2 separate regions of the Homo sapiens genome follow, and region 1 is linked to region 2. The links are contacts of gene promoters, found by promoter capture Hi-C in blood cells and fetal thymus (Javierre and others, 2016). All regions are on one chromosome and are shown on one strand. Each heading gives the region's core, a stretch centred on a gene start or on the middle of the fragment in contact. The rest is flanking DNA. Distances are from core to core; before and after follow the strand shown.

Evidence for each region. Contacts are between HindIII fragments. The CHiCAGO score rates a contact against its expected background, and 5 or more counts as called.
Region 1: the fragment with the promoter of ALDH1B1 here is called in contact with the fragment with the promoter of ANKRD18A in region 2 in 10 of 17 cell types (total CD4 T cells, non-activated CD4 T cells, total CD8 T cells and 7 more); the score reaches 10.1 in total CD4 T cells.

Annotation. Positions count from the first base shown.
Region 1 is chr9:38,391,283-38,395,839 of GRCh38, forward strand. ALDH1B1 (aldehyde dehydrogenase 1 family member B1) reads left to right here and starts at 1,420. Exons shown (of 2, transcript NM_000692.5): 1 at 1,420-1,525; 2 at 4,458-4,557. The coding sequence starts at 4,467. RefSeq lists a silencer at 1,187-1,506 and enhancers at 1,717-1,766, 1,807-1,896. The HindIII fragment of the contact is 5,526 bases long and covers 873-4,557 here.
Region 2 is chr9:38,616,378-38,622,732 of GRCh38, forward strand. ANKRD18A (ankyrin repeat domain 18A) reads right to left here and starts at 4,219. Exons shown (of 16, transcript NM_147195.4): 1 at 3,703-4,219. The coding sequence starts at 3,908. FAM201A (family with sequence similarity 201 member A) reads left to right here and starts at 4,711. Exons shown (of 2, transcript NR_027294.1): 1 at 4,711-4,988; 2 at 5,455-6,355. RefSeq lists enhancers at 4,865-4,984, 5,637-5,846. The HindIII fragment of the contact is 5,020 bases long and covers 1,303-6,322 here.

The sequences.
Region 1 (4,557 bases), core at 170-2,669, 230 kb before region 2:
AATTAGGTCCAAGCAGTCGCATGTGAGCACCCTAGATCAGTGGAGAGGCAGGGATTTAATACAAGGAACTGGGTGCTTACAGACCTGCTGCAAGTGCCGGAGGCAGAAGCAAGCCTTAGCCAGACCAGGACCAACTCTCAGGACAATATGGACGTGGCCCACCAGCCTCGTGCCTGTCTGAGGCTACTTCAGACACCCTCCTGCAGCCTCCATTCAAAGAGCAGGAAGCCAGGTCAAGGAGCGGCTACAGCCACAGCGGCCGGTCCACAGCCAGAAAGCTGGAGAAGGGACAAGGAATGCTGCCGCAGAACATCTCCCATTTCTGCTATCCTGCTAGTGCCACCCTACAGGGGCAGGACAATACCCTCCAATGCGTGCCCGCCTTCCACATCCGGCAGAGTACTACTAATTGGCAGCACCTAGTCCACATCCAGAACTCTAACTGCAAATGAGGCTGGGAAACATGGCGGTTAGCTTTGGGACCTCCCTAGCCAGAAGGAAGGTGCAGCGAGGGTGGAGCGAGTGAGATGCATGTTCAGTGGTCCATCTTGGCAACCTTTATAGCAACAAAATGGAGACAATTAAATGTCCAACAGTTTACCCCTACAACAGAATTCTATGCCACCTTGGAGAGGATGATGTCATCTGTAATTAGTGATAGGAGAAAACTTCAAAATACAGCGCTAAGTTTTTAAATTTTTTTTAAAGCAGCACAACAGAGGTTACTATATGATTTTATTTTTATTAAAATAATTTTGAAAGATGCAGAGGAAACAATACTAGCAGGACGAACACCGTAATAATGGCTACCGTAGGTGAAGAGATTACAGGTGATATTTTTCTTCTTTTTTCATCCTTTCCTGTGTTTTCCAAGCTTTCTACACTGTGCATACATTCTTTTTGTCCTTAGGACAAAAATGTACTTTGAAAAATGCCCAAATATAAAATCTTCTTGAAGGAACTGAAGAAAGGAGCAGTGAAAGTGGAGGACAGAAATTAGTGAATCCTGGACAAAAAAAGTGAGGGAGAGGCGAGGCAGAGAAGGGGTTAAGGGGAGTCTCAAGGATGGCAGTCGATTAAGCAGCGTCTTGCAGCGGGGAGAAATGCAAAGTGTAGTTGGGGTTCGGTCTCCGAAAACTTTGCTGTGTGACCTGGGGAAGCCCCTGCCCCTCTCTGGGTATCTCTGTTTCCGCTCCCAAACCAGTGCCTTAGGAGCCTAGATCTGAGCAACGTGGACACTGGGCTTGCGGAGACCCGAGGGAGGGAGCGCTGAAGCGGTGCGGGCTGCCGGGGGTAGAGGGGCGGGGACCGGGAAAGACCGGGCGGGGCGAGGGAGGAGCGGCCTTGGCCGGCGACAGGACGTAGGCAGCGCCCCAGGCGCAGGCGGAGCCTCATTGGCCGCTGAGCCCCGGGCTGCGCGGAGGCGGGACCTGCGGCCAGCCCTGGGCGGCCATGTGGACAGAGCTGGGAGGGCCGGAACCAGAACCCAAGCGTGATCCTGAACCGGAGCCCGAGCCTGCTGCAGGTAACTAACGCTGGTCTCCCCTCGGCTCCCTCGGGAAGCCGCAGCTCCTGGCTCCGCGTGGGGGCTTTCCTCTCTGGGCCGCGGCGTCCGCATCTGGGGGCTGGCCTTTCCGCCGTTGCACTGTAGGACTCTCTCCACGTCCCCTAATCCCATCCCCCGCCTCTGGGTGACGCTACAGGAGCCCCGAGGACACAGACGCCCCCAGACCTTACCACGTTAGCTCGACCTCAACACTCCTGCCCACTCGGCCCACTTCAACAGAGGGCCCCTGACCATAGCCCAGAGGCTTGGACAAGCCCAAAGGTTGCGCCCTTTCCCCCGCAGAAGGGGTGAGGTGGGCGCCGCTGCAGTTCCCGCGGATAGAGAAGGTCCGGTCCTTCCCGCTGTGGGTGAACTGTAAAAAATTGCCTGTATTCAGGAGGATATGCAAAGCTAGGTTTGTGGAAGTCTGGGGTGAGGCTCCTATACTTTCTTGCTGTGTGTCCTCGGTGAGTCCCTGAACCTCTCTGATGCCCAGCCTTCTTCCAGAATGGGGGTCATCATCAACCCTGACCACCCAGGGACTGCAGAGAGGCTTGGCAAATTTCCCGTGAGAAGACAGCCTGCAAACTGTAAAGCATGATGCTCTGTGAGCTGTGATCTTCCTATCAGCAAGTGGAGGCCCCAGCAAGAACCCCATATAGGCCCCAAGAGTAGGAACGGCCTTGGTGTGGCTGCAAAGGTTTGCCAGCCTTGGCCTATGACCACCTCTCCTGACTGCTTCACCCCTCCAATCCTTACCCCATGGGTTGGTGACTCCCCTTTCCCCTACCTCCTTTTGGTCTCCTCACCCTCAGAGCCAGGCCTGTTGGTGGCAAGGGGGCTGTGTCCCAGCATATGGCAAAGTCCTGAGCTAAATGGAACCCTGGGCACCCCTGGCAGATCTGCTGACTCAGCTTCCCCCTGTGGGATATGATGAGGTTTCTCTTCAAATAATCTGATCAATCTTTTATTCTTTAATTCTTAGTATCCCCCCCTTTTTTTTTTTCATTTTTCTCCTTTTTGCCTTTGTTAGATGCCCAGGCATGCCACAGTACCAAGCGTTATCAGTACCAGCTCACATTCCTTTGCTTATTTGGAAAGAAGACTAACTTTCTAGCTCATTACAGACACCCTTTCCCCTTTCTCTCCACTTTCTTTTACGTGCCCACTCTATCTAAAATAAATCAAATGTTTAGCCAACCGGGATTAGTTTAGATTGTACGACCTGACCCCAGCCAATGGGGAAAGGGTACAGGGGCAGGACTTGCATCAGGAATAAAGGCTCTCGTGCCCCTTTGTTCAGGTGTGCTCTCATGGCAACTGGCCAAGGAGGCATCCCTCTGCGCAGAAGTAAAATTGCTTTGCTAAGAATCCTGTGTTCGAGTGTTCAATTTCCTTAGGATTTTGAGCATTATTCCTAACACCCGCAAGGGGAAGGGAAACTTTCTTGGTCAGCATTGATTATTATTATTTTTTTTAGATACAGTCTTGTTCTGTTACCCAGGCTGGAGTGCAGTGGCACAATCATGGCTCACTGCAGCCTCAACCTCCTGGGCTCAGGTGATTGCCCCCACCTCAGCCTCCCAAGCAGCTAGAACTACAGGCATGCACCACTATGCTCGGCAAATTTATTTTTGTTTTTTTGTAGAGACACGGTTCTTGCTATGTGCTCAGGCTGGTCTCAAACTCCTGGCCTCAAGCAGTCCTTCCACTTCGGCCTACCAAAGCGTTACCAGCGTAAGCCACCACGCCCATCACATTGATTTTTATGGGGCCGGGGACCTACATGGAGCCTTGCTTTCCTGATTGAGTTTTTTGTTCCTCTCCCTGCCCAGGGGTGGAGGGTGAGAGGCTGGGGGTGAAGGGACAGGCAGGTGCAATTCCATTTTACCGCTGGGCGGAGCAAGACTCATGAGACATCAAAGGCAGAGAGATTCAAATTCTGACTGAAGAATAACTGCTTCAACTAATCTGGGAACACTACACTCTGTTTAATTTTCATTTAATATGTATTATATGCCGTTTAAGTTTTATAACAGTAGTTGTTTTAACGAAGTCTACACTCTTCAGAGTTGTAGCTTTTCTTCTCAGCTGCCTCCTGACTTGCTGCACCTCTGGGAAAGCTGAAAAGGGATGCTGAGACCTGTGGTTGGGGGATGCTGGGCTAGGTCAATTTCTGAGGCACGGCCAGTTCTGATGTCCTGAGTGGAGCTTGCCAGGGTTTTTATATGCAAGACATCATTCAACATAACCCCATGAGGCATTTCACATATGGGGGAACTGAGGCACAGAGGTGAAATGAAGCAAGTCCCTCTCAGAGAACAACCATCTCCAAGTCCCTTTGATTTCTACTCAAGTCTTAGGTCAATTCTTAGACAGCCTTTGTGGCAATTTCAGTGTTTTCTCAGTGTATCATTCAGTACTGTGTGTTGAGCCGCTGCTCTGTAGCAGGCATACCTCTAGGCTCGGGGACGTAGCAGTGAATGGAACAGAAAAATAAGTTCCTGTGCTCATGGAGCTTGCATTTTACTGGGGGGAGACAGACAAACATATAAGCCTGTAAAGATAGTATTTGGGATGTGAGATAGAGAAGGAGTAAAGCAGGGTAGCGGGGATAGAGAGTGTTGGGGTGGGAAGGGTTGCAATTTTTTAAAGGGTGGTCAGGGAAGGCCTTGCTGAGACAGTGGCTTTTGAGACCCAGCAGAGGTGAGGGAGTGAGCTGAGGATAGGCGGGACGTGATGGAGTTGGCCCAGAGAGTTCATCAGGGCCCTCACAGCTCTTACAGTCTGTGTTTTTAGAGGTGACAGTCCTTTATGCTGGAATCTTGAAATGTTTGAGCTGGTGGGCCCTTGGGTACCGCCACCTGCCTTCTCCCACCTGTTCACCCTGGTTTCTTTTGTCCCTCTCCAGAGTGTCAGCATGCTGCGCTTCCTGGCACCCCGGCTGCTTAGCCTCCAGGGCAGGACCGCCCGCTACTCCTCGGCAGCAGCCCTCCCAAGCCCCATTCTGA
Region 2 (6,355 bases), core at 2,969-5,468:
CCACTGTGATGCTTAAATGAAAATCTATGTAAAGCATTTAGAACTGTTTCCAGAACAAGCAACAACTCAATAACTGTTAGACTTTTGTTTGTTGAGACACGGTCTTGCTCTGTTGCCCAGGCTGGAGTGCAATGGTGTATTTATACCTCACTGCAGCCTGGCACTTGTAGGCTCAAGCAAACCTCCTGCCCCAGCCTCCTGAATAGCTGGGACCACAGGAGTGCACCAGCATGATCAGCTAATTTTTAAATTTTTTTTTGTAGAGTAGGAATGTCACCTTGTTGCCCAGGCTGGTCTCAAACTCCTAGCATCATGGGAACTTCCCACCTCAGCCTTCCAAAGTTCTGGAATGACAGGTGTGAGCCATGCACTCAGCCAGATGTTATAATTATATTACTAGTATTTAACAAAAATATTTTAATTAAGTAAAATGATACAATTATTGCTATTTTGCAGGATGATTTAAAGATTAGGTCACATTTTAGCATATCTGATATTGGAGTGGTATTTATAATTCATAATTTTTATATGGTAGCATTTATAATTGGTAGCATTTAAAAATCATCTTATTAATATAGAAAATAGTAGGGTATCACACAATCCATGAGGTCTTACATTAAGTAGAATACTGTATACACAGCAGGTCTAGGGCAATTCTAGGAATCTAATTGACACTTAAATACATTTTAATTCCTCAAAGTACCATGGGGAAAGAGCACTGAAATAACAACATATTTTTTAAACAAATTACTTCTTACTTTGATTTTTAAAAATGGGAAGCTGGCCGGGCCCAGTGGCTCACGCCTGTGATCCCAGCACTTTGGGAGGCCGAGGCAGGTGGATCTCTAGGTCAGGAGTTCAGGACCAGCCTGGCCAACATAGTGAAACTCTGTCTCTACTAAAACTACAAAAATTAGCTGGGTGCGGTGGCAGGCACCTGTAATCCCAGCTACTCGGGAGGCTGAGGCAGGATAATCACTTGAACCTTGGCAGCAGAGGTTGCAGTGAGCTGAGATCACGCCACTGCACTCCAGCATAGGCGACAGAGTGAGACTCTGTCGCAAAACGAAAAAACAAACAAACAAACAAAAAGAAACGTGAAGCTAAAGGAAACTCATGATTGAGATGAACAGGTATGGCTCATTTTAGTCAACACTTAGATTTACAGAATATATGCAAATCAGACTTTCCAATGATTAATATTAGTATTTAAGACTGATAAATTTTCAAAAGGGCAGTTAAAGGTTATCTCTTATTGTTTTCTACCTTCAGAAAGGCTTTTGCTTGAAAGGTGGGAGGAAAAGCTTCAGTGAGATTAAGTTCTACTATTCCTATTTTAAATCTCTCATCTTGCTCAGGCAGAACAGGTAAACATAAAGTTTTTAAGTATGGAAGGGTCCTGAGAGATAGTGCAAAATGTTTGCTACATAACATATTCGAGTTATGTTTGATGAATAAATGGATTGATAGAATACAGTTGGGGAGCTCAATATTTTTAAATACAACTTCTATAAACCAATATTTTTGTGATAGTAATAATATTTGCTATTTGTTATTTTGATAAGACTACAACTATAATGAAATGATTAATCTATCATTGTTTGCCTATATGTAATGAATCTATACATAAGAAAAACATATATACATAATAAAGTATATACATAAAATCTGCAAGCACAGATAAAAAGATTCCCTTTTTACTTCTGAAGAAGCTAAAAGTTCAAACCCTCACAATAATAATGATAAAAAATAGTGAGAAATTATTTTTATCTGTTCAAGAGTCATATTTCTCTTCCCAAAATTTATTCCATTAATAATAAATTTTTACTAGAAATTTTATAAATGCTCACTTCAGAAATCAAAGGTAAGAAAAAGGAACAAAAAACTTTAAAATACAAATGCTCAGAAGTTACAAATTTTATCCTATTTTGTGCATAGTATTGCCTAACACCAGACCATAGTATGTTTGTGTGTATGTGCAAGCAAACTGATTTGTTTTTCCTCACTGGCTGTAACAAAATGCATCTTCACATATCAACATACTTCTCCACCTATTGCCACCTTCAATGGCCACATACCATTCTATGGGTTCTTGTTAACATAAATGCTGGGGAAAAAAAGTGCATGTATCTCTATTTTCTGAAGGTATTTTAATACAATGGAATTGATGGGTAAAGGGCATATACATTTTTAAAATGTGGTAATTATCTCCAAATTATCCACTTGAAAAGTCATCAGCAACTTAAACTTCAAGCAGCAGTGTAAGTGCCACTGCTCTTCATTCTCACAAACACTGTGGATAGAACACAGTCTCACTCCTCTTTTAACTTATCTTATGAGAAACACTAAGGATTTTTTCCTATGTACATAAGTAACTTGTGAATCTGCAAAAAGTGCTTTGCTCACTTCTAGAGTTCTTTTCTTGTGGATTTGATTGGAAAGAATTCCCTGTAAAATAAAGATGTGCTTTTTATCTGTATATATATAACTGATATATATATATAACACATTATATTAGTAATATATACAATTTCTTATACATATAATCAGTAATATGTATTATATATAATAAAGAATAAATTCCCTGTAGGATGAAGATACACTTTTCATCTGAATATATATTTTTATATATTAGTAAAAATATATATAGGAAATATTTTTCGAGTGTGTTATCTTTTGTTAATTTTTTTCTGATACACAGGGGATTTTAATTTTTAGTTTGCTAAATCAACTTTCAGAATGCCTGCTTGCGAGGTCATTCTTACGAAGGCCTTTGTTAACATAAAATGTACCTGTATAAATAAGTCTTTGCGTTTTCTTCTGGTACTTTTTCTCATTTTGCATGTGTAAAAATTTCAGTCTGAATTCCATCAGGAACCCATTTTTGCGACATAAAGTTTCATTAGTTTTCTTCACACAGCAGGCATTTTATTAATAACTCATCTTTTCCTACTCATCTGAAACGTTACCATTATCCATCCCTATGTATATATCTTACATATATTTCAGTGTTTTTGGATTTCCTGTTCTGTTCCATTTATTTATCTGTGTTTTCAGCTGTTAGTAAATAATTAATTGTGGGAATTAATAGCACATTTTGATATCTAGAGGAGCAAGTCTTTTCACTCCATTATAAACATTTTTAAATGTCATCACAATGGTAAGATAGATAGCAAGTGTCATGCAAAAATGATAAAACCTTGATATCTTCATTCAGTTTATGTAAAACTGATAAACATGGAAACAGTTCATATTTTGAGAAAACTGAGTCTTCCCATTCAAGGAACCCACCTCGCGCTTCCCAGTGTCCCTCTAAGAAGCTCCAGTAAAGAACCTGTCTACCTAGGTGGATTCGGATGTAAAACCGACACAGGGTTTTATCTGAGAACTCTTCGCCTACTGAAAAAGGCTCATGGTATTTTTGACAGGGGAATGAGTTCTCATTAGGCACCTCCCTATCATGTATATGGCCCCATGTTTTAAACGTGGATATGCCTAACTTTGTGAGTTAAATCACTCAAATTTTCCACCAAGCGCGACGGACGGGGAATTGCCAGCGACGGAAAGCAGCTGAGGCTCCATTTGGCTCCGCTGCTCCGAGGGTGCCCGGCGCCCTCCAAGGTCCCCGCCCCAGGGGCTGCCGGGCTGCAGGGAAGCCGGGCCTGCGGCCCCCTCCCACCGCGGGCTGAGTCCCCGAGCTACCTGTCTTTTCTGTCGCGGGCGTCCAAGTCCCGGAACCTGCGCGTCAGGCAGCGCTCCACCTCCGCGGCGTCGCCCTTGATGGCAGCCCTGTGGATCTTCCGCAGTTCCCAGTCCCGAATGTCGTAACCCGGACCCGCATACTCTTGGTCCATGGAGCTCAGGAGCGCCTGGCCCAGGCGTCTCCCGAAGCTGAAGAGCTTCCTCATGGTGGCGACTTCTCAGACGCCCACCACCCGCTCCTGAGCCGCGGCGGCTCCTCGTGGCCTTTCCACCCCCACTCCGCCCCAAATCCGCGATCTCCCCCGCAACCCGCGATCCCCCCCGCAACCCGCGATCCACCCCCAAATCCAAGATCCACCCCCAAACCCGCAATGTAGCTCAGAATCCGCGATCCAGCCCGGTCCACCACAGCCTTCAGCAGCGACACTCGCAGACTCCGACCTCTCAGACCGAGTGAGCCCAGCTAAGCCGTTAGGCGCGCGCCTGAACCTCAGCGCTCCGAACTCTCAGACCGAGTGAGTCCCCGCGATGCCAGTTAGGCGCGCGCCTACAACTCAGCGCCAGCCGGGACTCCGGAAGCCGCTCCCAAGCCCTCGTGGCCGGCAGGGGGCACCTGCAGCACGGGCGCACGCGTCGCTGGCTTGCGGGTTCTCCTGGGCTCCCGCGGGACGTCCCGGAATCCCAGGAGTGCATCCCTTCCCGCCTGAGGGCCTGCCTGGCCCTGACTCCCGACCCGCTCCTCCTCCGAAGAGAGATCGGGGCCGCTGACAGGGGCCCTCCGCAGCCACCGGGGATGGGACTGGGGGGTCGGTTCCTGTCCCGGTGCAGCCGCCGCCGGGTAGACCGCCTGGCTTGGCCGCAGCCAGGGCGACATGTAGCCCCGGTTCTGCCAGGCTGGGAGCGCCAGCCATCTTGGGAGTTGCCAGGCAGCTGTCGCCAGCAGGTAGAGGGCGCCTGCAGCTTGGGCGCCCAGGTGGTGGAGCACGGCCTAGGCGGCCTCTGGATCGCGAGTGCACCTGGCCTGAGAGCCCGCCAGGCCCTGCCCCTGCTCGGCTCCTCGTCTGCTGAAGCTCGGGACCTCTAGCCAGTGGCCCTCTGCAGCCACGGGGAATGGGGCTGAGAGCCGGTTCCCGCTGCAGGGCAGACCACCTAGCTCAGCCGCAGCCACAGGGACATCTGGCCCCGGTTCTGAGATGTGGGGAGTGCTGGCGGGCTCGGGGGTTGCCTGGAGGCTGCTGCCTGCACACAGAAGGCGGATGCAGCTTGGGTGCCCAGGCGGGCTGGAGGTGCATGGCCTGGTCGGCCTCGGGATCGCCAGCGCGCCCAGCCTGAGGGCCCCCAGGCCGTGCCTCCCGCCCATTCCTCCACCGGAGGGGGATCGGGGTCGCTGGCATGGGCACTTGGCAGTCACTCCGGATGGGGTTGAGCAGGGGTTCTCAGTTTTCGCCCCTGTGCAGCCGCCGCCGGGCAGAATGCCTGGCTTGGCCGCAGCCACTGCTACACCTAGCGGGTCGGGCGGGCCGGGGGGTGAAAGCGCTGGGAGGCGGGTGCCTTCTCGCCCTGTGGCGCCTCTGGGCCCCACGGCTTGTCGGCCTCCGGCGCGCAGGGCTCCCCAGCATCCTGGGCGCCGGCCCGCTGCCTGCACAAAGTCAACTCAGACAGGATGAACTTCGGTTGCCTTGTCTGGCTGGGCTGCCAGGCGGGGCAGCTGACCTGCTGATGGGGTGACTTTCTTCATCTTCTTGCCCACAGGACAGCGGGCTGGGAAGCCAGGGGCCGCCGGGACCTGGGGCTGGAAACCACATCTGCCCACAGCCGCAGCCTCCTGCACCTGTCATCCTGGCGGCGCCCTGACGTCGGAGAAGCAGCAGGCGCGGAGCTCCTGCAGCGGGCACCGCTGCAGCAACCCGACCCGGCGCAGGCGGCAGTGGAAGGCGGCCTGCTAGCACGGCTCCCGCGGCCCCAGGACCAGGGGTGCGGCCAGCACCGCCCTCACTCCCCGCGTCTCGTGGATATTGCCCTCCCTGGAGGCGGCTGGACCTAAGCGAGGCTCGCAGCGATCGGCCCCGCGAAGACTCGCATGCAGGGCTCAGGATCCCGCATTCTGGCGCCGCGGCACCGCACCTTTCAGCAGCCCTGCTCCTCTTCTTGTTGGTAAACTTTTGTCACTCTGCCATGAAAAGCATCCAGGCGTCCTTGATTTCGACATTGCGTGCACGCTCAGCCGAGCTCATCAGACGGGCGGTTGTCCCCAGAGCCCGCGGGTAGCTTGTTCCCGGGCGGCGGCTCCTGCTGGATGCAGCTCCTTGTGGGCCTACCAGGCTTGGTGGAGCCACAGCAGACCTGTGGAGAGGAAGAGTAAGGCGGGCTCTGCAGGGCAGTGGGCCGGGACCATGAGAGAGGCGGGTCAGTCTGGGCTCCAAGCTCAGCCTCTCGGATTCCCCGGGACCCACGGCTTATAATGCGCTTAAATCCCACGCCTCGCCCGAGAGACAGCACGTCACCGTCACCGTCACCGCCTAGCGCCCCTGACCCGCTCCCACTCCGCTGCAGCGGAGGGTGTGTGAGGGAGAGGGACGCAGGGAGGGAAAAGCGTTGGGAGGGCAAACATCTTTTCATAAGCTTTTCCCCTTCTATATGCCATCTCTGATGG